Linked DNA regions of Homo sapiens: all the other regions are linked to region 5. Evidence: promoter capture Hi-C in 16 types of primary human blood cells and fetal thymus (Javierre and others, 2016). All regions are on one chromosome and are shown on one strand. Each heading gives the region's core, a stretch centred on a gene start or on the middle of the fragment in contact. The rest is flanking DNA. Distances are from core to core; before and after follow the strand shown.

The links. The method cuts DNA at HindIII sites, captures the fragments that hold promoters and counts their contacts. A CHiCAGO score of 5 or more calls a contact.
Region 1: a fragment that was not itself captured here is called in contact with the fragment with the promoter of GDI1 in region 5 in 10 of 17 cell types (total CD8 T cells, naive CD8 T cells, naive B cells and 7 more); the score reaches 12.4 in total CD8 T cells.
Region 2: a fragment that was not itself captured here is called in contact with the fragment with the promoter of GDI1 in region 5 in 4 of 17 cell types (naive CD8 T cells, monocytes, total CD8 T cells and 1 more); the score reaches 8.2 in naive CD8 T cells.
Region 3: a contact is called between a fragment that was not itself captured here and the fragment with the promoter of GDI1 in region 5, in 5 of 17 cell types (naive CD8 T cells, neutrophils, naive B cells and 2 more). The highest score is 7.9, in naive CD8 T cells.
Region 4: a fragment that was not itself captured here is called in contact with the fragment with the promoter of GDI1 in region 5 in 1 of 17 cell types (M0 macrophages); the score reaches 5.2 in M0 macrophages.
Region 6: a fragment that was not itself captured here is called in contact with the fragment with the promoter of GDI1 in region 5 in 9 of 17 cell types (total B cells, activated CD4 T cells, total CD4 T cells and 6 more); the score reaches 8.5 in total B cells.
Region 7: a contact is called between a fragment that was not itself captured here and the fragment with the promoter of GDI1 in region 5, in 3 of 17 cell types (monocytes, total B cells and total CD8 T cells). The highest score is 6.2, in monocytes.

The regions. Positions count from the first base shown.
Region 1 is chrX:154,040,327-154,043,661 of GRCh38, reverse strand. The region is part of intron 1 of MECP2 (methyl-CpG binding protein 2); the gene reads left to right. Among named protein-coding and RNA genes, the nearest start is that of MIR718, 22 kb to the right of the region's middle. RefSeq lists an enhancer at 2,114-2,614. The HindIII fragment of the contact is 203 bases long and covers 1,381-1,583 here.
Region 2 is chrX:153,999,995-154,002,912 of GRCh38, reverse strand. No RefSeq gene overlaps it. Among named protein-coding and RNA genes, the nearest start is that of IRAK1, 18 kb to the left of the region's middle. RefSeq lists enhancers at 496-545, 498-642, 2,188-2,688 and a cis regulatory region at 565-575. The HindIII fragment of the contact is 1,733 bases long and covers 769-2,501 here.
Region 3 is chrX:154,060,056-154,063,165 of GRCh38, reverse strand. The region is part of intron 1 of MECP2 (methyl-CpG binding protein 2); the gene reads left to right. Among named protein-coding and RNA genes, the nearest start is that of MECP2, 36 kb to the left of the region's middle. The HindIII fragment of the contact is 6,601 bases long and covers 1-3,110 here.
Region 4 is chrX:154,776,767-154,779,707 of GRCh38, reverse strand. It overlaps DKC1 (dyskerin pseudouridine synthase 1), which reads right to left. Exons shown (of 15, transcript NM_001363.5): 15 at 2,019-2,909. The coding sequence ends at 2,841. MPP1 (MAGUK p55 scaffold protein 1) reads left to right here. Exons shown (of 12, transcript NM_002436.4): 12 at 355-1,024. The coding sequence ends at 531. Among named protein-coding and RNA genes, the nearest start is that of SNORA56, 3.2 kb to the right of the region's middle. The HindIII fragment of the contact is 1,744 bases long and covers 535-2,278 here.
Region 5 is chrX:154,435,643-154,438,403 of GRCh38, reverse strand. It overlaps GDI1 (GDP dissociation inhibitor 1), which reads right to left and starts at 1,250. Exons shown (of 11, transcript NM_001493.3): 1 at 1,105-1,250. The coding sequence starts at 1,149. ATP6AP1 (ATPase H+ transporting accessory protein 1) reads right to left here. Exons shown (of 10, transcript NM_001183.6): 10 at 1,888-2,722. The coding sequence ends at 2,513. RefSeq lists an enhancer at 1,218-1,718. The HindIII fragment of the contact is 14,364 bases long and covers 1-2,761 here.
Region 6 is chrX:153,963,818-153,966,879 of GRCh38, reverse strand. It overlaps HCFC1 (host cell factor C1), which reads left to right. Exons shown (of 26, transcript NM_005334.3): 2 at 2,154-2,302; 3 at 2,596-2,756. Among named protein-coding and RNA genes, the nearest start is that of HCFC1-AS1, 3.4 kb to the left of the region's middle. RefSeq lists enhancers at 1-541, 542-1,200. The HindIII fragment of the contact is 550 bases long and covers 1,526-2,075 here.
Region 7 is chrX:154,023,045-154,026,143 of GRCh38, reverse strand. It overlaps MECP2 (methyl-CpG binding protein 2), which reads left to right. Exons shown (of 3, transcript NM_001110792.2): 3 at 1-3,099. Among named protein-coding and RNA genes, the nearest start is that of MIR718, 4.6 kb to the right of the region's middle. The HindIII fragment of the contact is 1,710 bases long and covers 417-2,126 here.

The sequences.
Region 1 (3,335 bases), core at 233-2,732, 390 kb after region 5:
TGTGTCCTGGGCTTCAGAGTTTCACATTCAGGTTGGCTTGGTCCAGTCTGTCATGTATCACTATAGGTCCCCACATTGGCCTCTTCCTCAGACGGACAGCCCATCTATCTGCCGGGGCTCTGTGCCACAGCCAGATAGACTTGCTCTGAGACAGCTGTGTGGGCTCTGAGCACTGGCCAGGCATCACAAAACCTATCTTTATGATTTAGAATAATTGGTGGTCAGCTGCTGTTTTAATGTTGTTGTTTTTTTTAATTTAGATATAATTCACATACCATGAAATTTACTCATTTAAAGTGTACAATTCATTCTTCAGTATAATTCATAGGCTCACAGAAAAAATTGTTTAAAAATAAAATGTGCAATTCAGTGTCTTTTAGTACATTCACAGAGTTGTGCAACCATCGCCTCTGTGTCATTCCAGAACACTTTCAGCACCCAAAAGAAACCCCAGACACAGGAGCAGTCACCTCTTATTACCCGCAGCCCCTGGCAACAACTCATCCACTTCCTGTCTCTATGGATTTGCCTATTCTGGACATTTCCTATAAATGGAATTATGCACTATTTGGCCTTTTGTGTCTGGCCTCTTTCACTGAGCGTAATGTCCTCAAGGTTCATCTGCATTGTAGCATGTGTCAGAATTTCTTTCCTTTTTGAGGCTGAATGATATTATATCCTATAGATAATGAGGTTTTGATTATCCACCCATCCCTTGGGAATGCATATTTGGGTTGCCCCCACCATTTGGCTGTTGTAAACTGTGCTGCCATGAACACTGGTGTACGGATATCTGTTTGGTTACTGGTTTTGGTTTTTTGTTTGTTTGTTTTGGTTTTTTGAGACAAGGTCTTGCTCTGTCGCCCAGGCTGGATTACAGTGGCACGATCTCTGCTCACTGCAACCTCCACCTCCCAGGTTCAAGCAATTCTCCTGCCTCAGTCTCCTGAGTAGCTGGGACTACAGGTAGCACTCACCACCATGCCCGGCTAAATTTTTTTGTATTTTTAGTAGAGACAAGGTTTCGCCATATTGGCCAGGCTGGTCTCAAACTCCTGACCTCAGGTGATCCACCCACCTCAGCCTCCCAAAGTGCTGGGATTACAGACGTGAGCCACCGCACCCGGCATAGTTGTGGCTTTTTGAGAGTGTATGGCTAGGAGTAAAATTGCCAGGTCATATGGTAACTCCATGTTTAACATTTGAGAAACTGCCAAACTGTTCTCCACAGCAGGAATTTTTTAACCTGTATGTGGTGGGCTTGTGTTTCGGTTTTCATTTTACACATCTATAAAGATGAGATTTGCTGTATGGCACTGGTTGCCTGTATTTGGGGAGGGTTCTGCTTTTGGTTGGCAAGAACTGCATTTTATTTAAGCTTAGCAAAACATAACTGGTTTCTCGCATCTTCTCAAAAGTGGAGGATTAAGAAATGGACTGCGAATTCAGAGCAGGGCAGCTGAACCTCAGGCTCCACCCTTGTAGCCTTCAAGCTGAACCTCATTCTCTCTTGCTCCCTGGAGACCACTGAGACACTCTGCCTGTGCCAGTTTGATTTCTCACATTTTTAAAGGGCCAAAGCTTGTGTCTCAAAGTGCTATAGCCTTTATTGATTCATGCAGAGAAGCCTCCTTGATTCCGTAATTCTGCAGCTAATACTGGAAGTAGAAAGAATTGGAAACACCATCTGGATGACACTTTAGGGTGGAAGCAGCCAGTACAAGGGGGGGCTCATTATTTCCTCTGGTCCCAGACTGTTCACCTGGAGCTGTAGCCACCACCCTGCCCTTAGGTTAACTGCCTCGAGTGGTAGTTTAGCTCTTTGTGCTGTGCCGAGGGATAACTGGAAGTGAAAGGTGCTGAGAAATGCCATCTCCTGAAAGTGGCGAGCATGAGTGAATTTACGAAAGGTTGGGATATTGCTGGGGCTCTGGAAGTTTCTCTGGAGCTCACTCCAGGGGACAGGGAGGGGGCTGGATTCCAATTCAAGTGAAAAATACCTTTCATCTGCCTTGTTCACCTGGCTTTTTTGCCTTTTTGTAAAATCTGAAAACCTCAGGGATTGAGTAGTCTTTCCTTAACTGCAGTTGCCTGTCTGGCCACACCTGCCAGCTGTTGCTTGTACCCCTGTAATTTGCACGGCCTTCCGGGCCTTTCTCACAAGATCACTGCAGGTCACATTCATGAGGAAAATGCAGGCAGTTCCTGCCATCAGACCCCTCAGGATGTCATGGTTTGGCCTGAAAACAAGATTCCTGCAACTCTAATTTTCCTTTGCTAGATCAAATGAAGGATTTGATCTAATGTTTGCATTCTAGCAGCAAAATCATTGAATATTTTATTTCTTAAGAGCCTTACTTCATATTTTGTAGGTATTTTAAGATTTTGTAAAGGCCTTTCTGCTTCAACGTGTGATGTGTGCATTCTTAGAAAAAGATCTTGTGTTCTGTAAATCACACAATAAAAACATGAGTTCGTGCAGGAAAAACTGGGGCGGGGTGGATCACTCCAAACTTGTGTGGTGTGGTAACTGGAGCTCACTGATGAAACCATGAACAGTTCTGGCTGAAAGAACCCCACAGTACACTGAGGTCTGTTGGCATCGCCGCCAGCACCGCCCCGGTCCCTTTGTGCGCGCCACCACACCTGGCTAATTTTTTATTTTTAGTAGAGAGGGGGTTTCACCATGTTGGTCAGGATGGCCTCGAACTGACCTCGTGATCCGCCCACCTCAGCCTCCCAAAGTGCTGGGATTACAGGTGTGAGCCTCCGTGCCCAGCCTTCAGCTTTTTTTCTTAATGTCTTTGTGTAATATGAAGGCATTCTCTTTAATTGTTAAAAAGCTTGCCTACCACTGCTTCAAAATATTACTGTCAGTTGGCATAGCTTCTGATTATATTGATGTCATCTCCCTTCTTTTAAACATGTTACCATATTGGCACTGTATTTCCCCTAGCCCATTGATCACTTGAGAGTTAGTCATAGTCCTCGTGCTGTTTCACTCCTAAACGTTTAAGCATGCCTTTCCTAAGAGCAGACAGTACAGTTAAGACACTCAGGAAGTTTAGCAATGAGCTAACACAGAACCTTACATTTCTCCACATACCCCATAAATGCCTTTTTTAGAGCCTTTGAGCCTGGAATGCAGAGTCCAGGACTGTGTGTTGTATTCGATTGTGTCATCCCTTCAGTCTCCTTTATCAGAAATGTTCCCCCACCCCCTTGTTTTCTCTCATCATCTTGAGTCCAGACCGTGGTTGCATGGCACGCCCTCTCTGGACTCTTCCTGCTGTCTCCTCACGGTAAGCTTCAGTCTCCTACTCGTGATGCTGGTT
Region 2 (2,918 bases), core at 386-2,885, 440 kb after region 5:
AATTTTTGTATTTTAGTAGAGATGGGGTTTCACCATGTTGGCCAGGCTGGTCTCGAACTCCTGACCTCAAGTGATCCACCCGCCTTGGCCTCCCAAAGTGATGGGATGACAGGCGAGAGCCCCCGCGCCCATGCTGGGTTTTCTGTGTATTTTGCCCACATGCGTCCCTTGGCTTTTCTCTCAGTTGAGTTTATGATCCACACTCGGTTCCACTCGTGATGTTTGGTTGGGTTTTTTACTAAAGATCTCCCCAAGAGCCATGCCTGTGGCAACCCCCAGCAAGTGCTTGTGAGCGGAAGCTGGTTTCACCCTGTCAGCGGGAGGGGAGAGACAGGGGACAGGCTGGCAGAGGGACCGGAACCTGTGGTTTCTGAGGGACAGGGCAGCACAGAGACGCCACTCACCTAGTGAGAGGCTGGAGGAGCGGGCAGACTTCTCGCTACCGCCTTCACGGCGGAGCAGCTGCCACCCGATCGCAAATGTAACAGAAATGGCCTCACCCATGCTTTTCTGGGAGAGAAGGAAAGTCAGTGAATGAACAACTCCCTCTTGGGTTGGGTTTTCTGCTGAGTCACTGCCTTAATGGCTACCAGAGACAACTGACACCCCCTCGCTAGGCCGGTTTCTAAGGCAACCATTGAGCAAGGTGGCCAGTGCCAACCAGCCTGGAATCAGAAGAGACGCCCATACCCGGCCACCATGTTGCCTTTTTTATTTCTCTCCAGAATTTTTAGAGCCTATTTTTTAAAAAGAAAAACAAAACAAGCTTTTCCTTTTAAAAAATACCCTCTCAAAAAAAAAAAAAAAAAAAAAATCCAAACAGTACAGACACGTACGAAGTAAGAAAATCTCCTTCTCAGTCTCCCAGCCTCCAGTCCCCTGGCTAACACTAGCTGTGGCCACCAGTCCCTGGTTTAAGTCCCCTCTACTCACGCTTCTCTCATGATTCCACGCCTCGCCAGTTTCACTTAACAAGACAAATCGAGAGTGTTCCCTGGACACAGATGTCCCTGACTTTTGTCCTTTTTTAGAGCTGTATGAATGTACTCCATGTCATTTATTTCGCCAGCCTCCCCAAAGGGTCAGTTCGGTTGTTCCAGTTTCTGTGTGTGTGTGTTTTTGCACTTAGGCAAGATCTTTAGGCGAGATCTCTATGAGCAGCAGTCAGGATCTGGCTCTGTCACTCAGGCTGGAGTGCAGTGGTGCGATCATGGCTCACTGCAACCTCGACCTCCCAGGTTCAAGTGATCCTCCCATCTCAGCCTCCCGAGGAGCTGGGACTACAGATGTGTGCCACCACGCCCGGCTAATTTTTTATTTTTCTGTAGAGATGGGGTCTCACTATGTTGCCCAGGCTGGTCTCAAACTCCTGACCTCAGGTGATCCACCTGCCTCGACCTCCCAAAGTGCTGGGATTACAGGCGTGAGCCACCACGCCCGGCTGAAATGACCCTTTTAAATAAATGTTGGGTTAAGGAGGAAATTAAAATTTTAAAATAGTAAATATAACTTTATGGCAATACATTTGAAAAGTCTAGATTAACTGAATGACTTTCTGTGAAAAATAGAAATCTTCAGAGTTGTCTCAAGAAGTAGTAAAACTGCGCCAAGCACAGTGGCTCACGCCTGTAATCCCAGCACTTTGGGAGGCCGAGGCAGGCAGATCACTTGAGGTCAAGAGTTTGAGACCACCCTGGCCAACACGGTGAAACCACGTCTCTACTTACAAAATACAAAATATTAGCTGGGCGTGGTGGCGCGCACCTGTAGTCCCAGCTATCCGGGAAGCTGAACCCGGGAGGTGGAGGTTGCAATGAGCCGAGATCGTGCCACTGCACTCCAGCATGGGTGACAGAGCGAGACTCCGTCTCAAAAAATAAATGAATAAAGAAGTAGTAGGCCAGGCGCCATGGATCACGAGGTCAGGAGTTCAAGACCAGCCTGGCCAAGATGGTGAAACCCCGTCACTACTAAAAATCCAAAAATTAGCCGGGCATGGTGGTGGGCACCTGTAATCCCAGCTACGTGGGAGGGTGAAGCAGAGAATTGCTTGAACCCAAGAGGCGGAGGTTGCAGGGAGCTGAGATGGTGCCACTGCACTCCAGCCTGGGCGACAGAGCAAGACTCCATCTCAAAAAAAAAAAAAAAAAAGCCGGGCGTGGTGGCTCACGCCTTTAATCCCAGCACTTTGAGAGGCCGAGGCAGGGGGACTACCTGAGGTTGGGAGTTCAAGACCAGCCTGACCAACGTGGAGAAACCCCGTCTCTACTAAAAATACAACATTAGCCAGGCGTGGTGGCGCGTGCCCGTAATCCCAGCTACTTGGGAGGCTGAGGCAGGAGAATCACTTGAACCTGGGAGGCAGAGGTTGCGGTGAGCAGAGATCGCGCCATTGCACTCCAGCCTGGGTGACAGAGCAAAACTCTGTCAAAAAAAAAAGAAGTACTAAAACTGAATAGACCATGAGTCACATGTGAAAAGGAATTGCTAGGTGCTAAGCTTCTAAAGGGTCCCTCTAGGTCCCCAGGCTGCTCCATGTGACAGGCACAACCCATCCCCAGTGTAGAACAAATTCTTCTTGCCTTTCATAAGGAGAGGTGTTTGCATAAGATGGAGAGCCGAGTAAGCCCAAGTACAGCAAGAATCGAGTTTTCCCAGCCCCGAGAGGCCCTGGTTGGCTGCAGCCTGATGAGGTGCTAGGTGTGGCCGTCTGGCTTCCCACCCTGTTCTGCGTCTCTGGCTAATTAAACTAAGAACCAAATATGGTCTGTATTTCTACCCATCTGCAGCCACCAGGTGCTAAAAGGGATTCCCAGCTGCCCTGTCTATGGAGCAGCCATTCTTTTATTCCTCTATCTTCCTAATAAACTTGCTTTCACTTTACTGTAAAAAATAAAAACAAAAAACAAAAAGGGATT
Region 3 (3,110 bases), core at 286-2,785, 380 kb after region 5:
GCAATGGTGTGATCTCGGCTCACTGCAACCTCCGCATTCCCGGGTTCAAGCGATTCTCCTGCCTCAGCCTCCCAAGTAGCCAGGATTACAGGCATGCACCACCACGCCTGGCTAATTTTTTTTATTTTAGTAGAGACGGGGTTTCACCATGCTAGTCAGACTGGTCTCAAACTCCTGACCTCAGGTGATCCGCCTGCCTCTGCCTCCCAAAGTGCCGGGATTACAGGTGTGAGCCACCGTGCCTGGCCGAAGACAACTTTTTAAAGATGCATATGCTCTGGGCTGGGTGTGGTGGCTCACACCTGTAATCCCAGCACTTTGGGAGGCCAAGGCGGGCAGATCACCTGAGGTCAGGGGTTCAAGACCAGCCTGGCCAACATGGTGAAACACCGTCTCTACTAAAAGTATAAAAATTAGCCGGGTGTGGTGGCGGGTGCCTGTAATCACAGCTACTCAGGAGGCTGAGGCAGGAGAATCGCTTGAACCCCAGAGGCGGAGGTTGCAGTGAATTGAGACTGTGCCACTGCACTCCAGCCTGGGCGACAGAGTGAGACTTGGTCTCAATAAATAAAATAAAATAAAGATGCATATATGCTCTGAAGGCTGGCTACATTTTATTTTTTCTCAAACAACTTTTACAGTGGATAGTGCTGTAAAAGTTGTTTAGCTCTGGTCATTTTATCTTTTTTGTGATCTGCAAAAGGAGATCCTTTTCCTTTTCACTGCCTCTAATACCCAACTCCAATACTCCTTTGACCTCACAGGCACTTAGAATCCATCAGTGGCTCCATCTTTTCTCAGACTTCACCTCCTTCGTATCCTTATTCCTCTCCTTTGTAGCTTCAGTGCCAGTCAGACGTCGTTACTCCCTGGCACACTACCTCAGCCCTTCGGCACTTTCTTGCTTTGTTATATTCAGTCGACAAAGCCCCAGCCTCATGAAATTCAGTCATGTCTGCCCCATGCCTGCTCCGTCCTGAAGCTGAATGTGACTCCTTCATTGATTCCCCCTTTAAGTTCATGTCTACCCCAGGTAAACTTCTTGCCGCCAAGCCCACCTGCATACTGCAGTTCCCCGGTCTCTCCTAGCCCCTCCCACCCTCCTCATCAGCTGTCACACCTCCTTGCAGCTGATATCTTAGTTCCCAGAGAGCACAGAAGCAAGCTCAAGAGAGTGTCTACAGGCCAGCGTCTACTCCTTCGCTCTGCCTCCCTCATGCTGTCACGGAGCGCCTGTCCCAGGCCCTCACTCCTGTTCTAAGGCATCTCTCCAGTCCTCTACTGCACTCTCCCCCATCAGAGATTCCTCCCTCGCCTGCCCTAGAAACTTGTTGCTACTTCTCCCACCTTGACAAAAGCTGCTCCCAACCCCCCACCTGTCTAGCATCTCTGTTTTCCTTTACCAGCAAGACTCCAGTCCCTGTCTCCACACCCTCTTCAACCTTCTCCAGTTGTTCCTTTGCTGCCACAGCTCTGCCAAGCTGCTCCATGAGGTCTCCAGTGATGACCTTCATGTTGTTAAATCTGGGAGCTGCTTGTCACTTCTTTTCCCAGAGCTGTCGTCGTCAGTTAACCCCAATACCCATACGAGACAATCCTTTCCCTCCCTTGAGTCTCTGCACTGATGTGCACCTTCTCAGTGCAAACCACAGCTTTTGTCTCTTTCTAGCTGAATACATGACTGACTGTGCTTATCTTAGCTGTCACCCCTGCTGGAGCAGAAGCTCCACAGGACAGGATTGTCTCCTTGATTCACAGATGTAGCTCAAGCTCCTAGAACAGTGCCTGGTGTCTGTGGGTCCTCAGGAAGTCCTAGGTGAGTGTGTGAATGTCTGTCCTCCTCGGTCTTTTCTGTTTCGCATGTGATGTTGGAAGGCCTCAGGTTCAGGCTTTTCTTCTCCACCCTCACTCCCGAAGTGATTCCGTCCAGCCTCATGGCTCCCAAATTTATGTCTCCAGGCTGACTGGGTCACGGGAACTCCTTATCCTCCCTAGACCTTCTCTTTCCCTGGTCTTCTCCTTTCCAGTAAACAGCAACTCCAACTCCTGCTCCTCAGGCCAGAAACCTGGCGCTGGTTACCTCATTTGTTCACAAATACTGTTACTCCACCTGCAAGATGGATACAAAATCTCATGAGTTCCCCTGCCTCCATGGCCCCCACCCTGGTCCAGGTGTCCAGCTTCCCTGCCTCTGCCCTTGCCCCCTGGTTCTTTGTTTAGTCCTGCAATATTGTGCTCTTCTGTTCAGAACCCTCCAGTGGGTCCCTGCTTGCTCAGAGTCACAGCCCAACAGGATCACCTCTCTTGCCACTCTCCCACCACTCATGCACTGCGGCCTCACTGGCCTCCTGGCTCCTCCCTGGACCCTCCAAGTATGCCCCTGCCTCAAGGCCTTGACCTCTCCTCTGCCCTCTGTCCCAGGTATCACACATGTCTGCTCAAGTGTCACCTTCCCAATGTGGCCTTCCCCGAGCACACCCATGTCTGTAAGTCAGGCAGCCTGCCTCTGCCCCACCAGTTCCCCCTGCCTAGCATAGGACTTGTCACCATCTGCCACAAGCTGTGTTACTGCTTGGTTTTGTTTGTGCTCTCCCACTCCCTTCCCCTCCCTCCCTCTCCCCACCCCTATAGAATCTGAGTCCCATGAGGACAGAGATTTTTTTTTTTGCCTCTTCCTCAATATATCCCCAGTGCCTAGAATCATGCATATTTTAATTTATTGAGTGAATTAACAAATAAATTCTGCAGTGGGACATTGCTCTAAGGTTTTGTCTTATAAGAGGGACAGAAGAACATGCAGCCTGCTCTGCTGTTGGCTCCTTAGCTTCTCCATGGCTAACAGGAACAATATTGTTTATGAGATAATCAAAGCCATAGTCATGAGTTAGAAGGTACATATAAAGGCAAATATGTGGAGATTGAGTTACTTTGGCGGGGGCGGAGGGGTGTGTAGTTATCTGAAAACATGGAACAAATCAATGAGAGTCTAAATAGCACCCACATATTTGCCCCTCTTTTAAAACATACCTCCTTTATGAGTGTAGAATTTAACAGCACAGTTTCCCAGTGCAGCTTTGCGAAACAAGAGAAATGAATTTTAAAGGCTGTCA
Region 4 (2,941 bases), core at 157-2,656, 340 kb before region 5:
TATCTTCGTTTTAGGATTGCAGCTCTGGTGGTTGTTGAAATGGCTCTTCCATGTTCAAAGGGCATTAAGTGGGAGATGCTGGTGAAGTCCATGCTGTCTCTGCATAGCTATTGGTCCTCCAGAGGACTCTGATTAGTCAGGGTTAGCTTGAGATCCTCTGAGAATTGCCATGGTCTTTTGAGATTGCCTCTTCATGCCCTACATTAACATTCTTTCACAATGTCTTCTGAATTTGACTCGTCAAGTATGATGCACAGCTGAGCAACGCTAACAATTGCTGTTTAAAATCTGTCACTGGCCTCTCTGGGCTGGGGGTGGTGCAGCTTGCTTCATCTGTGGCTTTCTTCTTTGCAGACAGAAGCCCTGCAGCAGCTGCAGAAGGACTCTGAGGCCATCCGCAGCCAGTACGCTCACTACTTTGACCTCTCACTGGTCAATAATGGTGTTGATGAAACCCTTAAGAAATTACAAGAAGCCTTCGACCAAGCGTGCAGTTCTCCACAGTGGGTGCCTGTCTCCTGGGTTTACTAAGCTTGTAGAATGGGGGAACCCACTGTATGCCCCTCTCCAGCATTTGGAATTCCACCCGCCTTGCTTTAAGACAAACAGGGCTGCTCCAACTAGTTTTGTGTCAGCTTCCAGCTCTCTGCAGCTATCCTAATTCAGCCAGTAAGGTTCAGTCTTCTTGCTCAGGCTCCTGAAGGGTTGATTCTCCTGATAGATGGGGCCCCACTGATCTGGATTTGAAAAGGATTTCTAGAAATTGGGGGTAAGAAGTACTACCAAAATGTAACTGCTAATCAAGGGTGATGCACAGCAAAAGCAATGGACCCCATCCCTCTAAAGCCTGCCCTCCTTTGCCTTCAACTGTATATGCTGGGTATTTCATTTGTCTTTTTATTTTGGAGAAAGCGTTTTTAACTGCAACTTTCTATAATGCCAAAATGACACATCTGTGCAATAGAATGATGTCTGCTCTAGGGAAACCTTCAAAAGCAATAAAAATGCTGTGTTGAAATGCCAATGACCTTGTAACTCTGGGTTTCCACACAAAAAGAAATGTGGCCCATTTCACTTAAGCTCCTGGACAACAGCATTAACACAAGATGCCTCTCTTGTGTTCAGATGATAAACACTGGTGCCCTGGAAGAGTCCCCATTCTCTGCCCCCACTGCAGGGCTCTACTGGCTAGTGCCCATGTAGAAAAACACCCTTAAGGTTGTTGTAGCTAGTGGAGCGCTCATTGTGGGCACATATTTAGAACGAGAGAAAATCCAAGCCTGGGGTCCCGTGGTACAGTGGAGGCCGGTCGCTGAGCCAGGGCTGGGGCCCACCCTGCATGCCTGGCTCATGATATGGCTACAGCTCAGGGCCTCGCCTCGCTGCATCCAAGAGCGCTTTTTTTTTTTTTTTTTTTTTTTTTTTTTTGAGACAGTCTGTTTTGCCAGGCTGGAGTGCAGTGGCAGGATCTCGGCTCACTGCAACCTCCACCTCCCAGGTTCCAGGGGATTCTCCTGCCTCAGCCTCCCGAGTAGCTGGGATTACAGGCACACGCCACCACACCTGGCTAATTTTTGTATTTGTAGTAGAGATGGGTTTTGCCATGTTGGCCCAGGCTGGTCTCAGACTCCTGACCTCGGGTGATCTGCCCGCCTCAGCCTCCCAAAGCACTGGGATTATAGGTGTGAGCCATTGCACCCGGCCTCTTTCTTGGTTCTTAATACCAAATCGGAAGCAACCCTAGACCTTTCTTCCACTAATCTGTCACCAAGGCCTTCAGATTCCTGCATGTCCCCACCCTCAGCTTCGTTCTCCCGACTCACCCTGCCCCCCGCTCCTGCCAGGCCCACTATGTATAAATACATTAACCCTCTCCTTCTCTGTTCTTCTAGAGATCAGTGGTTTTGTGGTAATCACTGCCTCTGAGTACTTGATCTCACATCAGATGACAGGGCCCAAGGTGGATTGTGTAAGATACAGAACAAAAATGTAAAAACCAGAAAACAAACATAAAAGCATCACATTTCAAATAGGACATAAAGGTCCCTAGATTTTTAATCAAAATATTTTACAATTTTTGCTCTGCTAGCATGAGATCAACAAGAAAACCCAACAGGAATACATAAAAAACTTAACAAGTTGACTTTAATAAGTAAAAATTACAACATTCTTCTCCCAGCAATGAACAATTTCATTTTTTAAAAGTAAACGAGGCCTAAAACAAGAGGGCACAGGAACAAGTAGTCAGATGGATTTAGGTGAGCACTGTACACAAGCTTTGAGGAAGTGCAAAGGACTGACCTCTAGGCCAGAACAAGATGGAAAACTACCAGGCCCATCAGGCCTATAACCCAGACACCAGCATGGACAAAACTCAGTTATACTGAATTCAGAGACAAAATTCAGTGACACTCTTCTACCACTTATTTAGGGTTCTACAGCATTTCACTGAGCAGACTTAGTTTTTTGTTTTTGTTTTACAAACCTTTTAAACAGAGGGGATTTAAAAAATGCAAACTAGGACTACGATGTTAAGACAACCACTAGCAGACAGCTGCGGACAGTTACTGGGTCTGAAGGTGAGGCTTCCCAACTCAAACAGAGAAGTCATTGGGATAAACTCTGCCTCTTTCATCTTTCACCACCCATATCCTTAAAACAGGACAAGATGGGATGACCACACCAGGTAACATCACCGAGGTCTCAAAGTAGCAGCTAAAATGTGCCAGAACTCTTCACCCTGTCTAGGACCTATGTTCCACTCTCTCAGCAACAAAAGGATCTATAACATGTTTTCTCAATAAGGCTTTAGTTTCTCCTCCAGCTTCAAGTGGCCTTCACTACTCAGAAACCAATTCTACCTCTTTTGCTTTCTTCTTCTTCTTCTTCTTCTTGGTGGTATCACTGTCCTAGAAAGAAAGAGAATGAAAGCTCACAGATA
Region 5 (2,761 bases), core at 1-2,500:
CTGGCTAGTTGCCTCGCCTAAAATTGGGGTGATGGCTTCATCCGACCACACTCTCCATTGCAACCTTGCTGGGCAAAGGAGTCCCGTCCCCCTCACAAGGCGGAGAGTGAAATAACGGAGGCTTTGAGGGAGGCAGGGCATCCAGCAGACACAGGATGGCCTTCCAGTACCAACACGCCGAGAGGCATCTACCTACGCAGAGCCGCACAAAAAGGCGGATAAAACACAATAAGGCACAGAGAAGACCCAGCTGGACTGCAAAGGACACTCGAAAGGGAGGAAAAGAAAGGCTTAGCACAGTCCTTGAAATTGTAGGCCCCACCCTGGACTGCTCTTTCTTCAAATAGCAGGAGCCCCTGCCGCTGAGGAGGGGCATCTGGGCCTGGACCGAGGAAGAAGAGTCTCTGAGGGGAGTAGGCCAACGGGGTTTTCGGGGAAAGGGGGAAGATAAACACCCTCACCAGTCACTGTCACTAGCCCAAGGACAAAGGCTGCAGATGCTACCCAGCCTGAGGTCTCCATGGGCAACCGAGGTGGGGTTGCGGGAATGTGCTTACTGCCCCCACTGCTGTTCCTTCTGGAACATTCCCTGGATCCCCTGGCCCCAGAAGACGATGAGGAGGCGGGCTGAGGGCCCACTCTGGCGAGGCCCCCTGACCCCAGGTCCTTCTACTTCATCCCCACCGGGATTAGCGCAAGATGGGAACGGACGCTGAGAGGCAACGCTAGGCGGGCAATGGGTGCGGGCGACGGGTGGATGCCGTGATGGGTGGGGGCGATGGGTGGGCGGGGTCGTGGGCATCGGGCCGAGTGGGGGTGCGTTTTCCGGTCCAGCGGGCAGGGGTAGGGAAGATGGGAGGGCGCCGGGGGTCGGACCCGGGTAGCCCAGGAGGCGGCCAGGAAGGGGGCCTCTTCGGGGAGATGGGGTCATGGCAACGAGCAGAGGCGACGTCGCTGGGGGAGCAGCGGGGTGGGCACGGCGCCGGCTTTTCGGGGAGCGGAGCGCAGAAGATGGCAGTGACCAGAGGATGGGCCGGCGGCCGCATCATCGCGGGGGATGGCGAGGGCACGACGCAGGGCCAGGGGCGCCGGGGCCGCACTTACGGTGAGACCGGTCCCCAGCACGATCACATCGTATTCCTCGTCCATGGTCAGGCCTCGGTGCCAGCGCCCGCTCGGCTCCTCCTCCTCCTTCACCGCAGCAGTCGCCGCCGCCACCGCCGCCGCCGCCACCGCACTGGACCAAAGATGGCGGCGCGTCGGCCGTCGCCCGACCCCTCCGCCGCGTCAAAGAGTCCCGCCTCTTCCCGCGCCCCGCCGCAACCGGCAGGGGCCACCGCCTCCCCGGCTCGCCTCCCGGGAGGGCTGCCAGGGCCCGGGCCACAGCACCAGCGCGGCTCCGCGGGCGACGCTGCTCGCCGAGAGTCTAGAGAGGCGCGGGGCGGGGCGGGCGGGGCGGGCCGGCGGCCGGTGCTGCGGCCCAGGAAGAATCCGTGCGCGGGAGCCGCGCGCGCCCCGCCCCACCCGCCGCGCCCCGCCCCGCCCCGCCCCGCGCGCGCCCGCCCACCTCCCCACCCCCGCCCACCCCCCCGGGAGTCTCGGCGCGGCCCCGCGGCCGGGCGCGCGCCGCTGCGGCAGCCTGGGGCGGCCCCCTCACGACGCGAAGGCTGCCATTGTCACGACGGCCTCCTGAGACGCCGAAGCGCACCGGGACTCGGCCCGACCGCCCCTCCCTACCCTGAGCGGTTAGGGCCCAGCTTGCTAAAGCCCCTCCCGGTCTCCGCGGATGCCTCTTCGCCTCCCCCTCGCCAGGCTCCATCCTCCCGCATCCCTCCGGCGAGCACGCGCCTAAAGCCCAGCGCAGAAATGAGCGACAAGAGGCCCAACGCATGGCGACCCGCGTTTATTTTATTAGGAAGGAAACAACCAAGCACCCCATGCTCCTGCCCGGCACTCCCGGTGGGAACATGCCAAACAGCCGGCGATCGCACCCAGCCCACCTGTCGTGGAGGTCCCTTCCTTCTCAGGCCACAGAAATAAACCCGTGTACTTCTTATTGTTAGCACAACATCACCAGAAAACGATAACGACAGCCAAGCAGGACAGACAGTTAAGTAGTACTTCCACACTCCCAAACTCAGGGAGCCCTATAACCTTAAGGAGGGAGCATTTGCTACACAAAAGCACTATCCACAGCCAGGGATGATGTAGCCACAAGAATAAATAAGGAGAAAGGAGACCCTAGAATTCATGTCCCTTACGCCTCACAGCGACGAACCCTGGGAAGCTGGTTGGTCTAGCATCTACGCAGAATATGTACACCTTGTTGGGAGAGATGGGGGCAGCCCAAGAAAGCTCCTCAGCGGGCTGAAGAGGGAGCAAGATGGGCTGAGGGGAGCTTGCAGTTCATGCTGCAGTAGGAAGAGGGAAGCTCTTCAGTCCAGTGCGCTGCAGGGTGGGAAAGCAACAACACGGACACCGTCCCACCCTCAACCCCCCCACTGGCACAGGGTCACACAATCTGGGTCAAAGAAATAGTGGGGCCCTTGTGGTCATCAAAGCGATCCATGGTCTTGAGGCTGAGGATCATGTGCAGGCCATAGGTGAAGATGAAGAGCATGAACAGGGAGGTGAGCAGCCCCATCCAGATGCCGGGGGAGAAGAAGCTGGCACAGTCGCTGGCGTAGGAGAACTGCTCCCCCATTACGTTGAAAGCCTGGATCTGGCAGACACACAGACACGGGTCAGAAAGGACCGTTGG
Region 6 (3,062 bases), core at 551-3,050, 470 kb after region 5:
CTGACCCCACGTGCCATTTAGCTTTGTCCCAAACTCTGACCCGCAGCCCCATAGCTGTGGGCTTTGACCACGAGGGTGCTCAGGGGAGTGAGGGTGGCTGCCTGGACATGGGACCCTAGGGAAGGCACAGATCGGTTGCTTCAAGTCAGTGATGGGGCTGTTGTCTCTGTCTCTGTTTTACGCTGTGACCTCAGGTGTCGCTTGCCCTCCTGGGCTCTGCCCCTTTACCTACCGAGAGCAGTTGGCCCAGGCAGCCTTAGGTCTCGTTATGCGTTTACCCTGGTAGCTTGCATGGAGCTCCCTCCAGGGATTGGTCAGGACGGCTCTCCAGTGCGCAAGGCTGTTGGCCTTGGCAGCTCTTGCTTTTCTGGGGTGGTTTTTGCACTGGGAATGAGAAAGAGGCAGAGGGCCAGGATCCGAGCTTGCACATGCGGGCGGCACAGGTGTTGTCCCTCTGCTTTAGGGAAATGGCAGGGGAGCTCTAGTGCTCGGCATGTCCGAGGCCCAGTGACTCAGCTGAATGGCTGCAGAGGCTGTCAGCCTGCTCGAAGCCTACCCGCAGAGTGGGTGCTGGAGAGCGGGGTGGGGGTGCTCTCGCCTCAGGAGGAGCGGTGGTGGTACAGTTGTGCTGTGTGGGGTTTTCTGTTTTTTTTGTTTGTTTGTTTGTTTTGAGGTTAGGTCTTGCTCTGTTGCCCAGGCCGGGATGCAGTGGTGCGGTCTCAGCTCACTGCAGCCTCAAACTCTGAGGGTCAGGCAGTCCTCCCGCCTCAGCCTCCTGAGTAGCTAGGACCACAAGTGTATGCCACCACACTGAGCCAGTGTTTTAAAATTATTTGTAGAGACGGGGTCTCCCTGTGCTACCCAGGCTGGGAGTTGTGCTTTGGATAAGGGCTAGCCTTGCACACGGTTCCGCATTGAGCCCTGGGGGTGACAGTGTGAGACTGGGTGGGACCAGAGTGCAGTGGGGCATGCATTCCCAACCATGGTCAGCCGCCTGGCCCTGGGTGCACACCTGAATATGGAAAAAAAACACTGTTTTTCCTCTTCTATGGTCTCACAACACTTTTGGCCACCAAACTGAATAGTCTGTATTATATCACAATATCACAGCATCCCTGTGTGGAAGCCTTCCCACCCCACAGGAATCCCCCCATGCCCTGTCACGTCCTGGGGGACCCATCTTGCGTCTTGAGTCATGTGGAGGGGCCTCAGTTCCTTCTGCCGTCTGCTTGCTGAGATCTCACCCAGGCCAGCTCAGAGGCACAGAGTCGGGGTTGCACCTGGCCCCCAGTTTGGGGTTTCTGGAAAGAGTGTGGTGAATCCTCTGAGGGACCCCTCATAGGAGGAGGTTTTCGGGGAAGCCCTGGCCTGCCAGGTGTGAGGGGAGTCAAGTTTGAGGACATGAGGGAGGGGCCTGGTCCCAGCTGAAGGCTGCTGTGCCATCCTGTGGAAGCAAAGCAGTGCCTAAGGTCTGATTTCCCTCTTTCTTGGTGGTCGCCTCACCCTCATGAGCTTTTGAGAAGCTTCTGTCACAGCTCTGCTGAGACTGCTGCCTCTGGCTTGCAAGAATGTTCTGGAGTACCATAGGTGTGGCAGCAGGGGCAGGGAGGGATGCTGGTGGACCATCACCTAGGAGACCAGAGGAAGTCCGGGAGGTCAGAGCAGAGGCCGGGTCTCATCCCCATGGCTCTTCGTAGCCTGCAGCGGTCACTGTTTTGGCCACTTGAAAGTGCTGCTCTGGGCTCTGGCTGTCCTGACCCTGTGATGAAGGGACAAAAATGTGGGCTCCAGGGAGGAGGAGCACAGGCCCACCAAGAGGGTATTTTGGGGAGAAATTCATGTCTGATCACTGAGTGCTAGGGAAGGAAGGCAGTGGCTAGATTCCCAGTAGCTGATGAGGGATCTTGCACAGTAACTTCCCGCTCATTAAGATGACCTTGGCGAGAAGCAGGGTGGTCACAGGCTCTTTTGCACTGGCCTGAAGTCGAGGGGTTTGGAAGATGGCCCAGGTAGCGCAGCTGGAGTTGCTAGAGCGCCCGCAGGGATGGTGCTGGCTCAGCCCCTCTCACCAAGCTTGACGGCTGGCACATTTGGGGAATGAGAGGAATGGGGGCTCCCGGGTGTTCTGACTTCTGCCTCCTTCTGTTCCCCAGCAACCAACCAGTGGTTCATCCCAGCCGTGAGGGGGGACATTCCCCCTGGGTGTGCAGCCTATGGCTTCGTGTGTGACGGGACTCGCCTCCTGGTGTTTGGTGGGATGGTGGAGTATGGGAAATACAGCAATGACCTCTACGAACTCCAGGTAAAGCAGCCCCAGGTTCTCACTCTGCCTCCTTGGCCCCATGTGACCTGACGGTAGTGGCTTCAGGGTTGAGGCAAGCGGGAGGTGGAAGGGACGCTTGAGAGTCTGCCAAGGCTGCTCTGAACTTGGCCCACCTCAGAAGAAGGCAGCAAGGACCAACACCCAGGACCTTCTTGCTCCAGCAAGGCACCTCGCTCACCCCCGGCCATTTCCTCCTCCACCACAAGTTGCCCCGGGTCCCTAGTGGTGGCCTTCTCATCCCACGGTTCAGTCTCCAGGTCTTGATTTTGCAGGCGAGCCGGTGGGAGTGGAAGAGACTCAAAGCAAAGACGCCCAAAAACGGGCCCCCTCCGTGTCCTCGACTCGGGCACAGCTTCTCCCTTGTGGGCAACAAATGCTACCTGTTTGGGGGTCTGGCCAATGATAGCGAGGACCCAAAGAACAACATTCCAAGGTGAGGCTTGGTCCTTTTCTCTGGAACCCCCCGGGTGGGTGTGCTCTCACATGCACAGGGCTCCATGGTGTCCTAAAGAATGTGCGCAGCAGAGCCCCGTGGCCGGGTCCCTTTCTCGTGCTGGGTTGTAAATGAGAGAGCGGCACCGGATGCCCTCTCAGGAGCTTTCGGGCTCCAAAATCGCTACTGACCCTGAGCAGGCCTCGTGGGAGGAGGGCCAAGCTGGAGGTGGAAGCCACTTTGCCTTGGGCTGGCCCAGCTCTCGGAGTCGGCTTAGAGCTGCTCGCGTTCCTTCTCAGCCTCCGC
Region 7 (3,099 bases), core at 22-2,521, 410 kb after region 5:
CAAATGGATTCCTGTTTCAAGTTCACACCTGCAGATTCTAGGACCTGTGTCCTAGACTTCAGGGAGTCAGCTGTTTCTAGAGTTCCTACCATGGAGTGGGTCTGGAGGACCTGCCCGGTGGGGGGGCAGAGCCCTGCTCCCTCCGGGTCTTCCTACTCTTCTCTCTGCTCTGACGGGATTTGTTGATTCTCTCCATTTTGGTGTCTTTCTCTTTTAGATATTGTATCAATCTTTAGAAAAGGCATAGTCTACTTGTTATAAATCGTTAGGATACTGCCTCCCCCAGGGTCTAAAATTACATATTAGAGGGGAAAAGCTGAACACTGAAGTCAGTTCTCAACAATTTAGAAGGAAAACCTAGAAAACATTTGGCAGAAAATTACATTTCGATGTTTTTGAATGAATACGAGCAAGCTTTTACAACAGTGCTGATCTAAAAATACTTAGCACTTGGCCTGAGATGCCTGGTGAGCATTACAGGCAAGGGGAATCTGGAGGTAGCCGACCTGAGGACATGGCTTCTGAACCTGTCTTTTGGGAGTGGTATGGAAGGTGGAGCGTTCACCAGTGACCTGGAAGGCCCAGCACCACCCTCCTTCCCACTCTTCTCATCTTGACAGAGCCTGCCCCAGCGCTGACGTGTCAGGAAAACACCCAGGGAACTAGGAAGGCACTTCTGCCTGAGGGGCAGCCTGCCTTGCCCACTCCTGCTCTGCTCGCCTCGGATCAGCTGAGCCTTCTGAGCTGGCCTCTCACTGCCTCCCCAAGGCCCCCTGCCTGCCCTGTCAGGAGGCAGAAGGAAGCAGGTGTGAGGGCAGTGCAAGGAGGGAGCACAACCCCCAGCTCCCGCTCCGGGCTCCGACTTGTGCACAGGCAGAGCCCAGACCCTGGAGGAAATCCTACCTTTGAATTCAAGAACATTTGGGGAATTTGGAAATCTCTTTGCCCCCAAACCCCCATTCTGTCCTACCTTTAATCAGGTCCTGCTCAGCAGTGAGAGCAGATGAGGTGAAAAGGCCAAGAGGTTTGGCTCCTGCCCACTGATAGCCCCTCTCCCCGCAGTGTTTGTGTGTCAAGTGGCAAAGCTGTTCTTCCTGGTGACCCTGATTATATCCAGTAACACATAGACTGTGCGCATAGGCCTGCTTTGTCTCCTCTATCCTGGGCTTTTGTTTTGCTTTTTAGTTTTGCTTTTAGTTTTTCTGTCCCTTTTATTTAACGCACCGACTAGACACACAAAGCAGTTGAATTTTTATATATATATCTGTATATTGCACAATTATAAACTCATTTTGCTTGTGGCTCCACACACACAAAAAAAGACCTGTTAAAATTATACCTGTTGCTTAATTACAATATTTCTGATAACCATAGCATAGGACAAGGGAAAATAAAAAAAGAAAAAAAAGAAAAAAAAACGACAAATCTGTCTGCTGGTCACTTCTTCTGTCCAAGCAGATTCGTGGTCTTTTCCTCGCTTCTTTCAAGGGCTTTCCTGTGCCAGGTGAAGGAGGCTCCAGGCAGCACCCAGGTTTTGCACTCTTGTTTCTCCCGTGCTTGTGAAAGAGGTCCCAAGGTTCTGGGTGCAGGAGCGCTCCCTTGACCTGCTGAAGTCCGGAACGTAGTCGGCACAGCCTGGTCGCCTTCCACCTCTGGGAGCTGGAGTCCACTGGGGTGGCCTGACTCCCCCAGTCCCCTTCCCGTGACCTGGTCAGGGTGAGCCCATGTGGAGTCAGCCTCGCAGGCCTCCCTGCCAGTAGGGTCCGAGTGTGTTTCATCCTTCCCACTCTGTCGAGCCTGGGGGCTGGAGCGGAGACGGGAGGCCTGGCCTGTCTCGGAACCTGTGAGCTGCACCAGGTAGAACGCCAGGGACCCCAGAATCATGTGCGTCAGTCCAAGGGGTCCCCTCCAGGAGTAGTGAAGACTCCAGAAATGTCCCTTTCTTCTCCCCCATCCTACGAGTAATTGCATTTGCTTTTGTAATTCTTAATGAGCAATATCTGCTAGAGAGTTTAGCTGTAACAGTTCTTTTTGATCATCTTTTTTTAATAATTAGAAACACCAAAAAAATCCAGAAACTTGTTCTTCCAAAGCAGAGAGCATTATAATCACCAGGGCCAAAAGCTTCCCTCCCTGCTGTCATTGCTTCTTCTGAGGCCTGAATCCAAAAGAAAAACAGCCATAGGCCCTTTCAGTGGCCGGGCTACCCGTGAGCCCTTCGGAGGACCAGGGCTGGGGCAGCCTCTGGGCCCACATCCGGGGCCAGCTCCGGCGTGTGTTCAGTGTTAGCAGTGGGTCATGATGCTCTTTCCCACCCAGCCTGGGATAGGGGCAGAGGAGGCGAGGAGGCCGTTGCCGCTGATGTTTGGCCGTGAACAGGTGGGTGTCTGCGTGCGTCCACGTGCGTGTTTTCTGACTGACATGAAATCGACGCCCGAGTTAGCCTCACCCGGTGACCTCTAGCCCTGCCCGGATGGAGCGGGGCCCACCCGGTTCAGTGTTTCTGGGGAGCTGGACAGTGGAGTGCAAAAGGCTTGCAGAACTTGAAGCCTGCTCCTTCCCTTGCTACCACGGCCTCCTTTCCGTTTGATTTGTCACTGCTTCAATCAATAACAGCCGCTCCAGAGTCAGTAGTCAATGAATATATGACCAAATATCACCAGGACTGTTACTCAATGTGTGCCGAGCCCTTGCCCATGCTGGGCTCCCGTGTATCTGGACACTGTAACGTGTGCTGTGTTTGCTCCCCTTCCCCTTCCTTCTTTGCCCTTTACTTGTCTTTCTGGGGTTTTTCTGTTTGGGTTTGGTTTGGTTTTTATTTCTCCTTTTGTGTTCCAAACATGAGGTTCTCTCTACTGGTCCTCTTAACTGTGGTGTTGAGGCTTATATTTGTGTAATTTTTGGTGGGTGAAAGGAATTTTGCTAAGTAAATCTCTTCTGTGTTTGAACTGAAGTCTGTATTGTAACTATGTTTAAAGTAATTGTTCCAGAGACAAATATTTCTAGACACTTTTTCTTTACAAACAAAAGCATTCGGAGGGAGGGGGATGGTGACTGAGATGAGAGGGGAGAGCTGAACAGATGACCCCTGCCCAGATC